Regions from separate parts of the Homo sapiens genome. Here region 1 is linked to region 2. The links are contacts of gene promoters, found by promoter capture Hi-C in blood cells and fetal thymus (Javierre and others, 2016). All regions are on one chromosome and are shown on one strand. The core of a region is centred on a gene start or on the middle of the fragment in contact, and the rest is flanking DNA. Distances in the headings are between cores, read along the strand shown. Region 1 holds the start of ENOSF1 (enolase superfamily member 1). Region 2 holds the start of SMCHD1 (structural maintenance of chromosomes flexible hinge domain containing 1).

Region 1 (5,097 bases), core at 389-2,888, 1.9 Mb before region 2:
GGGGAGGGAAGGCCTGACATTCTAACACCCTCAGTAAGCAAAAAAGACCTTCAATATTTAGGTAGGAGTCAGAGTTCCTGCCCTTACTTTATTACATCTCTTAAGACGAACTGACATTTGCATCAGTCCTTTCTAAGCGTGTTTGCGGGTAATTTCACGAGAGCGCCCTCTCATGTGACGCAGTTAGCACGCGCTTGGTTTCTCAACCCGACTGTGACACCTTCATTACACAGACGGGTCCAAGAGACCCAGAGAGGTCTGGAACTTCTCCAAGTCACACAGCAAGTTGTGGAAGCGGGATCACCACTCAAAACTCCCAGCCCCGGGCTTCCCGTTCTCCCTCAGCGCCAACCCCGTCGCGTTCAGGGTACAGAGGAAGCCAGCGAGCGCTGTGCTCTAGGGTTTCCACTGGCGGGAACCCAACAAAATCATTTTGCTGCTATTGCCTATTATGCATTCTACCATTTCCAGCAAAATGTGAGTCGTAAAAGTAAAACCAGGATATTCTAAACTCCAGCAAAGAAAAAACCCAGGAGAGTGGAAAGTTTCTGGATACTTATACAATTGCTCCAAGGCATGAAAAGCGAGTGTCTCCCCCAGGCGCGCCTCCCACTTTACAGAAGCAATGGGTTCGAAGTCGGGAAGCTGCCCGGGGCCCGCAGAGCTGCAGTCGGCGGGGCGGGAGGGACCCGGGCCGCAAGCCGCGCGTACCATGGCGTCCGCGCTTACCATGGCGTCCGCGCTTACCATGGCGTCCGCGCTTACCATGGCGTCCGCGCTTACCATGGCGTCCGCGCTTACCATGGCGTCCGCGCTTACCATGGCGTCCGCGCTTACCATGGCGTCCGCGCTTACCATGGCGTCCGCGCCGTGGCCCCCAAGCGACGTGGGGAAGCGCACGTCCCGGACCGAGAGCCGGGAGATCCTGCCGCGCACCATGGCCCCTGCGCCCCGTGGCCGCGGCCCCCGTGCGGTCAGGACTGGTCGGGATCCCGAGCGCGCGGCGGGAGGGCGGGAGGGCGGGAGCGCGGCAGCGCCGCGAGGCGGGGCACCGTCAGGGCATAGAGGGCGCTCATTGGCCGCGCGGCCGCACCCCGTGAACTTGGCCCCATGGGAGCTGCAGTCCCAGCTCCGGGCTCCCGGGGGCGCACTCCGCCTTCCGCCGTTCCCTTCTCAGCCTAGACGGAGCTGACCCCGAGAGGGTTCGCTCAGGGTCGCCGGGGAACCTGGGCAGGCAGGAGGCCTCGCGCCCGGTCGGCGCCTCCGCGGGACCCTGCTCTGCTCGGATGGAAGACTCGTGAAGGGACCTGCCCGGGAGCCGCGCCCTAGAGGGAGAAGTCGGGTCTGAGCGAGTGCATTCGCTCAGCGGCAGATTCCGGCCAGTGGCTCAGCTCCCAAGCCGAGGCCGCTGGTTGTCGCCAGCGTACCCAGGAGAGCGGTGCCCTAGAAAATGCTAGGTCTCTTTCAGTGCCCACAGCCTCAGTTTGCCACCTGATAAATTAAGAGGCAGGTCATCATTGATTACACCCGTACTGATGCAGATGAGGTCCCCGTACCGTGCCTCAGCCTGTAATCCCAGCACTTCGGGAGGCCGAGGCGGGCGGATCACCTGAGGTCAGGCGTTTGAAATCAGCCTGGCCAATACGGCGAAATCCCGCCTCTACTAAAAACAAAAATTAGCAGGGCGTGGTGGTGCGCGCCCGTAGTCCCGGCTACTCGGGAGGCTGAGGCAGAACTGCCTGAACCCGGGAGGTGGAGCTTGCAGTGAACTGAGATCGCGCCACTGCACTGCAGCCCGGGCGACAGAGCAAGACTCCGACTCAAAAAAAAAAAAAAAAAAAAAAAGATGCTGGGCGGCTCACGCCTGTAATCCCAGCAGTTTGGGAGGCCAAGGCGGGCAGATGGCGAGTCAGGAGATCGAGACCATCCTGGCTAACACGGTGAAACCCCGTCTCTACTAAAAATACAAAAAATTAGCCGGGCGTGGTGGCGGGCGCCTGCAGTCCCAGCTACTCGGGAGGCTGAGGCAGGAGAATCGCTTCAACCCAGGAGGCGGAGGTTGCAGTGAGCCGAGATCGCACCACTGCACTCCAGCCTGGGCGACAGAGTGAGACTGTGTCTCAAAAATAAATAAATAAAAAGAAATAAAAAGAAAATCCAAAGTAAGCAGAAGAGAAGAAATAATAAAAATTAAAGCAGAAACCTGTGAAATTGAAAACAGGAAAGCAACAAAGAAAAATCAATGAAAACAAAAGCTGGTTCTTTGAAAACATTGATAAAATCAATAAGCCTCTAACCAGGCAAGAAAAGAGAACGCAAATAACTAATATCAAAAGTGAAATAAGGAACATTACTACAGATCCGACGGACATTAAAATGATAATAAAGGAATACTATGAATTCTATGTCCACAAATTTGATAACCTGGATGAAATAAACCAATTCCTTGAAAGACACAATCTGCCAAAACTCACACGAGAAGAAATGGACAATCTGAATAGGCCTATATCTATTAAATAACTTGAATAAATAATAGCCTTCCAAAAACAAAAAGCACCAGGTCCATGGTTTCACTGGTGAATTTTACACCAAACATTTAAGGAAGAAATTACAACAATTCTCTATAATCTATTTCAGAAGATAGAAACAGCCACAAACTGACTTTATGGTGAATGATTGATGCTTTCTCCTTAAGATTTGGAACAAGGAAAGGATGTCTGCTTCCACCACTTCTATTCAACATAGTACTGCAGGTTCTAGTTAGGGTAATATAATAAGAAAAGAAATAAAAGGCAGATTGAAAAGGAAGTAAACCTGTTTATTCTTGGATGACATGATTATTCATCTTTGTTGAAAACTGTCTTCATTGGACTTAACGAAAAAAGCTACTGGAACTAATATTGAGCTTAGCAAGTTTGTAGGATACAAGGTCAATTTAAAATCTATAGTTGATGTGCTAGTAATAAAAAATTGGAAACAAATTAGAAAACAGTATCTCTTAAAACAATTGCATTGAAGATATAAAACAGGACAAGTTTAACAAAAATATGCAAGATTTGCACACTGAACTATAAAACATTGCTGAGAAAAAAAGATCTAAAGAAATGTAGAAATGTAGAGAAATTCATATTCTTGGATTGGAAGACTCAATATTGTTAAAATAGCAGTTCTTCCCAAATCGAACTACAAATTCAATGCAATCTAATCTAAATCACTAGCAGGATTTTTTTGAAGAAATTGACAAGTTGATTCTAAAATTTATATGGAAATTTGAATAGCCAAAATAATCCTAAAAAAGAACAAGGCTGAAGAACTTAAACTACTTGGTTTTAAGACTTGCTATACACTAATCGAGTCAATGTGAAATTGACATAAAGACAGACAAGTAGATCAATGGAACAGAAGAGGTCTTGAAATAGTAAAAATACAAAAAATTAGCCAGGCGTGGTAGCACGCGCCTGTAGTCCCAGCTACTCGGGAGGCTGAGGCAGGAGAATCATTTGAACCCGGGAGGCGGAGGTTGCGGTGAGCTGAGATCGCGCCACTGCCCTCCAGGCTGGGCGACAAAGCGAGACTCCGTCTACAAAATAAAAACAACAAAAAAAAACAGGGGCCAAGAAAATTCAACGAGTAAGCTAATCTTTCCAACAACTGGTGCTCGAACAATTGAATATCCATAAGAACAAACAGAACAATCCTGGATCATTACCTTATATCATACACAAAAATCATCTCGAAGTGGAATATAGATCTAAATTTTAAGAGCTAGAATTACAAAACTTCTAAAGAAAACACAGGAGAAAATCTTTTTGTACTTGGATAAAGCAAACTTTCTTAGGACACTAAAAGCATGAATCATAAAAGAAAAACATTGCCAATTAAATTATCAACATTAAAAATGTTTTCTCTTTTATGAAAACCATTAAAGAAATGAAAATGCAAGCTGCAGATTGGAAGAAAAATATTTGCAAAACATATCTGTTAAAAGGACTTGTATGCAGAATACTGAAAAAATTACAACTCAGTAAGATGGCAACTTGATATAAAAAATGGGCAAAAGACTTTTTAATAGACATTCCACCTAAGCAGACATATGAATTTGAAATAAGCTTATGAAAAGACTCAACATTATTAGTCATTAGGGAAATGCACACTAAAACCACAATGATGTACTACTAACACGCACCAGGATGGCTGCAATTAAAGTGACTGGCAATACCAAGTATTGGCAAGGATGTGAAGCAGCTGGAACTCTCATACATTGCTGGAGGGGTATGAAAGGGTACAGCTTCTTTGGAAAATAGGTTATCAGTTTCTTAGAAAGTTAAGCATTCATGTATCATACAACTCAGTAATCCTACTCATAGGTAATTATCCAAGAGAATTTAAAACCTATGTTTAAAATAAAAACTTGTATTTGAATGTTCATAGCAGCTTTATTTGTGATAGCCTAAAACTAGTAACAACCTAAACATCCATCAATTGGTAAAGGACAAAACCAAGATGTAGTACACATCCACACAATGGAATATTACTGAGCCATAAAAAGATCTCAAAAGCATTATGCTAAACGAAAGACATCAGACACAGTGACTACATATGATTCCATTTATATAAAGCCCTAGAAATGTACAATTATAGTGACAGAAAACACTCAGTGGTTGACAGAGGTCAGGGGTGAATGGAAGAGATTGACTGTAAAAGGGCATAATGGAATTTTCTGAAATGATGGAAATGTTCTATGATTCTGGTTTCATGGTGGTTTCATGGCTGTCTACATTTGTCAACAACTCATCTAGTGGTACACTTAAAATGGTGAGCTTTGTTGTATGTAAATTATACCTCAATAAAACAAAAAATGTTGCTTTGGGGTGCTGCCTCCTCTTTGAATTTGATTCTAAGTTTGAATTTTCTTTGAAATTGCACTTAAAACTCTGCGAAAATGTTCTCTTGTATTTCTTTTAGATTGGGTTTCTTCTGGTTCCACGAATTTTTCAAAATTTCTGCTGAAGTGAAGCCACCCTTTTCTAACTTTCTAGCAATGGTAAAGATTACAAAAACCAACCAAACCAAGTTTGCCATCTAGTTCCATGGTAT
Region 2 (4,915 bases), core at 1,424-3,923:
TAGTTCAATGAACTCAGGAAAATCTAAGTTTTCTTCAGGTTCTCAATTATTGTCAGCAAGTGTAAATCCTTTCCGCTTCAGGGAATATTCCACCTTCCCATTCACCACACCTTGGTGTAGTACTTTTTCCACCACAAAATCCTCAGGCTCTGCTTCATCAGCTTTTATACCCTTTCCACTAAGTCTTTTGTCCCATTTTTTTGCAATGTACAGTGGCCCTCAGTATCCTCGGGTTCCGCATTCCTGGATTCTATCAACCGAGGATAGAACATATTTTAAAATCACAATAAAACAAAAAAATACAAATGAAAAACAATACAGTATAACAACCATTTACATAGCATTTATATTGCATTAGGTATTATAAGTAATCTAGGATGTATGTAGGTTATATGCAAATACTTCGCTCTTTTATATGAGGGACTTGAGCAGCCTTGGATTTTCCTATCCATGGGGGTCCCGGTCCAGAAACCAATTTCCCAAGGATACCAAAGGACGACTGTAGTTTTACTGGAGGCCATTTTTAATTGCAGACATGAAGAGCTATTGTTCACCATCTCGTTCACCATCTCTGAGCTGCACCTGGTCTGGGTCTGTGGCATCTCAAATCCTGCCTGACTCAAACTTGAGCTACATGCAAGGAAGAAGGGAATGGGGAACTTCTTCAGGGGCCACTAAGTTTTGGGGAAGTTCGTTATGTAGCAATAAATAACTGATACAAGGCCACTTAAATATTTTACTCTGTAGTAAGATAGCTAATTAACAAAAACTAAGAGTCAATTGAAGAGAACTCATTAAGGAAGTGGGTCATTTCAAACGCTTTTATTTACTTGTGATGACAATTAAATAAAGAACAAACTCGTCATCTTTCTTTGATGAAAAAATTGTTTGATATTCTGAGAACAAAAGTGATGCCATACTGCCATTAAGAAACTGATTCAGACTCGATCTCTCAACAAGGTAAGACATCAATGTTCCCATCAAGAGCTGCCCATAATACTGCAGTACACTTCTCTGGCACCATTAAAAAAAAAATCTCTTAGAGATGATCCTGAAATCTCTTCTAAAGACATGAAAGAGGTGTGCTTGTATAATCTGGTATTACAAAGAAATGAGAAATTGCCCTGATGACGAATCTCCAGCTCTAATCTCAATTTGCTGAAGTAGAGAGGCAATTCATCTTACCCATTAACTAAGAATTAGAAAAACAATTTGTGTTTTTCTTTGAGTCATTTAACTCAAATACCACTATATAAAGGAATAGAATGAGACATTCGCATGAATTTGAAAGGTAAATAAAACATCAGACTTCAAAGAAATTCCATTAGAATCGGGGGTTACTTTTTTGTTTTCTTTTCCTCCACCTCCACCTTAAGGAACATGAACGGCATTTGGCCACAGTTTATGTCTTTCCAATTTTATCTTCCACCATCTACCGCTCAGTTCTCCTCACTTCCAGCCAAACAATGTATGTTCCCCAAACACGCCTTCACAATTTCGTTCTAGTTGGTGTCTACCTCTAGTATATGTGTAGTCAATTTATACACACATTCCCCACGATCTTGAAACGTCTTGACATCCACAAGCAAATCTAGGTTTCTAACATAACACTAACTTTGTAAGTCTGTCCATATAAGGTTTTAGCAAACCTAGTAAAACAGAAAACGCACTATTATCCAGGCTTATATTCTGAGATTTGAAAAACCCCTCTATCTGCTACCTTTGGGTTTCTGAATTTACATACCACTCTCAAGTATACAGTATTCACGATTTCTAAGAACTGGAGAGTAAACCTAGTCCTCTAACAATGGCATTTTATTTGTTGAGTTAGGGCACTACCTGCCCACGATGAGGATAGTTAATGAAACGCTGCCCGGTAACGACGATTAAAGGCTTTGATTGAAAACGTATTAGGCCTTAAGAATTTTGCGAACATCTAATTTAACCCTAGTAACTGTGGCGTGGGTTCTTTCAGAATTTACACGCACGTGGGAGACCGCGAAGCGCAGGCAGCGTTAAAACTAGGGCGCTGGAGTCACCCCCGTACCCCGAATGCCGTCGGCGCTCCAGGGCCCCCAGAGGGTGCGGGGGGCGGGGACGCTGTGACGTCACAGAGCGCCCTTCTGACGTTCTCACGGACCCGCTTTGCCTCGGGGGCCCACGCTGGAGCCCACCCAGTACTACTAAGAAATGAGGAGGAAAAAGGGGCGCCGGCTCTCGTAGCGCCTATTTTCTCGGCAGAGGGACCCACGTGCTCGCTTTGGTGGACTCTGCGCCCGGCGAGTACCGCCGGCCTGAAGCTTCCCGCCGCCGCGTCCACGCGACCCAGCCAGAGAGGGCTCAGTCAGCCGGCGCGGCACCTACAAGCTCAGTCGGGATCCTGGAGAGGCGGGAAGGCAGCGGGGCCCTTTCCACAGAGAGAACACAGCTCTTCGGGAGATTCCCCCGCTGCCCCCGAGCCCTGCTCTCCCGCCTCGGCCTCTGAGGACTACCCGCAGGGCGCAGGCAGCCGCGAAAGACTCAGCCTCCTTCCAACTTCGCGAGGGCCGAGGGGGCGGGCCCCGGGCGCGCGCGCGGCGAAGCCCCGCCCCTGCCCGCGCGGCCTGCTGGATTCGCCCCGCCCCTCGCTGTCGCCCGCCGCCCGCCACCCGCCACCGCTCTTCCTCCTGCGCCACAGTCCCGGCGGCGGCGCTGGTCGCGGGTCGCACCGTGAGGCTCGCGTGGGCGGCGATAGGCGCTGGGCCCGGGCCCGGTGAGGAGCGCGCCGCGCGTCCCCTTCTCCTCAGGAGTGGCGGGCCGCGGAAGTGACGTGGTGCACGGGCAGGAGCGCGTTTGAATCGGTTCCCGGGTGATCCTCGCGCCTGCCGCTGCTCGGCCGCCGCCGCTGACGAGGAGCTGCAGCGCGCCGGGCCGAGGCCTCGAGCCGCCCCGGGAGCTGGAGCTGAAGGCGCCGCGCGGAGCGCGCACCTCAGCCCTGAGCCCGGCGGCGGCAGGCGTCGCTGTCTTTTCTCCTTTTCCCCAATATGGCAGCGGCGGACGGCGGCGGGCCTGGTGGGGCCTCTGTGGGGACTGAGGAGGATGGCGGAGGCGTCGGCCACAGGACGGTGTACTTGTTTGATCGGCGCGAAAAGGAGTCCGAGCTCGGGGACCGGCCTCTGCAGGTCGGGGAGCGCTCGGACTACGCGGGATTTCGCGCGTGTGTGTGTCAGGTACGCGAAGGGGCGAGGAAGGGATGCGCGTGTAGACTTGGGGGCGGGAGGGTGATGAGAAACTCAACTTGCTCACTGAGGGCAATAAACCTGTCACCCGGTCCCGGTCCTGCGGCCTTGGCTTCCCTCTCCCGTGTGCCCGCCATGTCCGTGACCTGGTGGCCGGACGCCTCGGGCGGGCCCTGGCCCGGGCCTCGAAGTGCAGGGCCGGCTCCCCCGTGGCCCTCCCTCTGCCTCCGCTCCTTTTACGGGAGGCCTTGCCGGCCCGGGTGGAGAGCTCAGCGTTTGTTGGCCCTGGGCGAGCTTAGCCCGGTTGCGGCCCTGCAGTCTAGGGAAAGCCGTTGGTGGTGTCTGTTTTTACTTTGTAACTTTTTTAAAACGAGAGAAGGGAGTTAACGCCCAGGGGCTCTGTTGTGAGTGTTGCGACGGTGGGAAGTTGTGAAATGCCCGGAGTCATCTCCCCCAAGTTCATTAGATGATGCGGGGTGTCCCCGGGTTGCCCTGTCGAGGTTGCAGGTCCTTCTGGGGCGGGGCGGCGGGGGGGATCCTTCCGCACGGAGACACTTGTCCAGGTCAGCTCTGCAGGTAGAGCTGGCCTTCTGCCTGTCTGAGCCCTAACCCTTGGGAATTTCCAAACCAAGTCAAAGGTTGGTATGGGTGGCTGTGGAGCACCAGAAAACGTACCTACCCCGTGTATTGGTTCGCTTTGAAAATGAACGTGGAGGGAAATCCGCTTTAAACTGTGATGTACTTTATAGATATGAGGTGGTGGCATTGCCTGAGCTTTGAAGAAGGAATATTGTCATGCTCTGAATTAACCATATGAGGTCCCTTTTTAAGCTGTTAAGAACACTTAGCGTCCAAGGGAAAAAAAGAACTTTGAAGCCGTGTTTTGTCGTGAGGCTGATAGGTTTAGAAATGTTCTAGACCATATAACTGTATGGTTGCTGAAATAATTGAAATCGTGATCCGTAGAATGAAAACGATTGGAGAAGTAAGGACTTTCTTTTGTTCACAGCTGTAGTCCCAGCGTCTAGAACTGTGCCTGCGACATTGTAAATGCCCAGATTAGAATGGATAAATGAATGAAGACAAAAACCTATCCCCTCAAGTTAATTCTGTGCCTGAACGTAGTAGATTCCCGTTGTGTTTGAAAAGTGAATGAATGCTCATCTTTTTTGTTGAATGCTTTCTATTCAGAACCATTCTACAAAAGGGAAACTTTTTACGTTTATTGTGTTTATAGTAAAAATATCAGTACATTAAAGAAAATATGGAACCAGAGGGGGGAAACAAGTAAATCTTTTACTCGCTGTAAAACTACTATATGACTACTCTTAGCACCTGAGGTTATGTCTTTTCAGCCTTCCTCCTCCTTCCCACTCCATTTTTTAAATTACTAAAATATGTGTTTTATATTCTATTAATTTTTTCACTTAATAGTGTCAGAAGTTTCTTTAAACGTAGGTCTTCAAATCAAAATTTGAAATGGTCCATTTGCTACCACTATTTACATAACCGAATCTCTCCTTTCTGTTGACATTTACATTACTTTTAATTTTTTTGATTTTAAGTAATGCTGTAATAAACATTTTCCCAGGCCCAAATATTCCCGGGCTCAGGTGATCCTCCCACCTCAGCCTCCCAAGTAGCCAGGACTACAGGTGAGCGCCACCATGCCCAGCTATGTTTTTTTTTTTTCGTAT

The links. The method cuts DNA at HindIII sites, captures the fragments that hold promoters and counts their contacts. A CHiCAGO score of 5 or more calls a contact.
Region 1: a contact is called between a fragment that was not itself captured here and the fragment with the promoter of SMCHD1 in region 2, in 2 of 17 cell types (naive CD8 T cells and M0 macrophages). The highest score is 7.8, in naive CD8 T cells.

The regions. Positions count from the first base shown.
Region 1 is chr18:711,649-716,745 of GRCh38, forward strand. It overlaps ENOSF1 (enolase superfamily member 1), which reads right to left and starts at 982. Exons shown (of 16, transcript NM_017512.7): 1 at 856-982. The coding sequence starts at 939. RefSeq lists silencers at 907-1,226, 3,981-4,275 and an enhancer at 1,178-1,757. The HindIII fragment of the contact is 4,938 bases long and covers 1-4,107 here.
Region 2 is chr18:2,653,053-2,657,967 of GRCh38, forward strand. SMCHD1 (structural maintenance of chromosomes flexible hinge domain containing 1) reads left to right here and starts at 2,674. Exons shown (of 48, transcript NM_015295.3): 1 at 2,674-3,209. The coding sequence starts at 3,024. It also overlaps the pseudogene CBX3P2. RefSeq lists an enhancer at 853-1,482 and silencers at 2,517-2,966, 3,197-3,376. The HindIII fragment of the contact is 3,448 bases long and covers 2,299-4,915 here.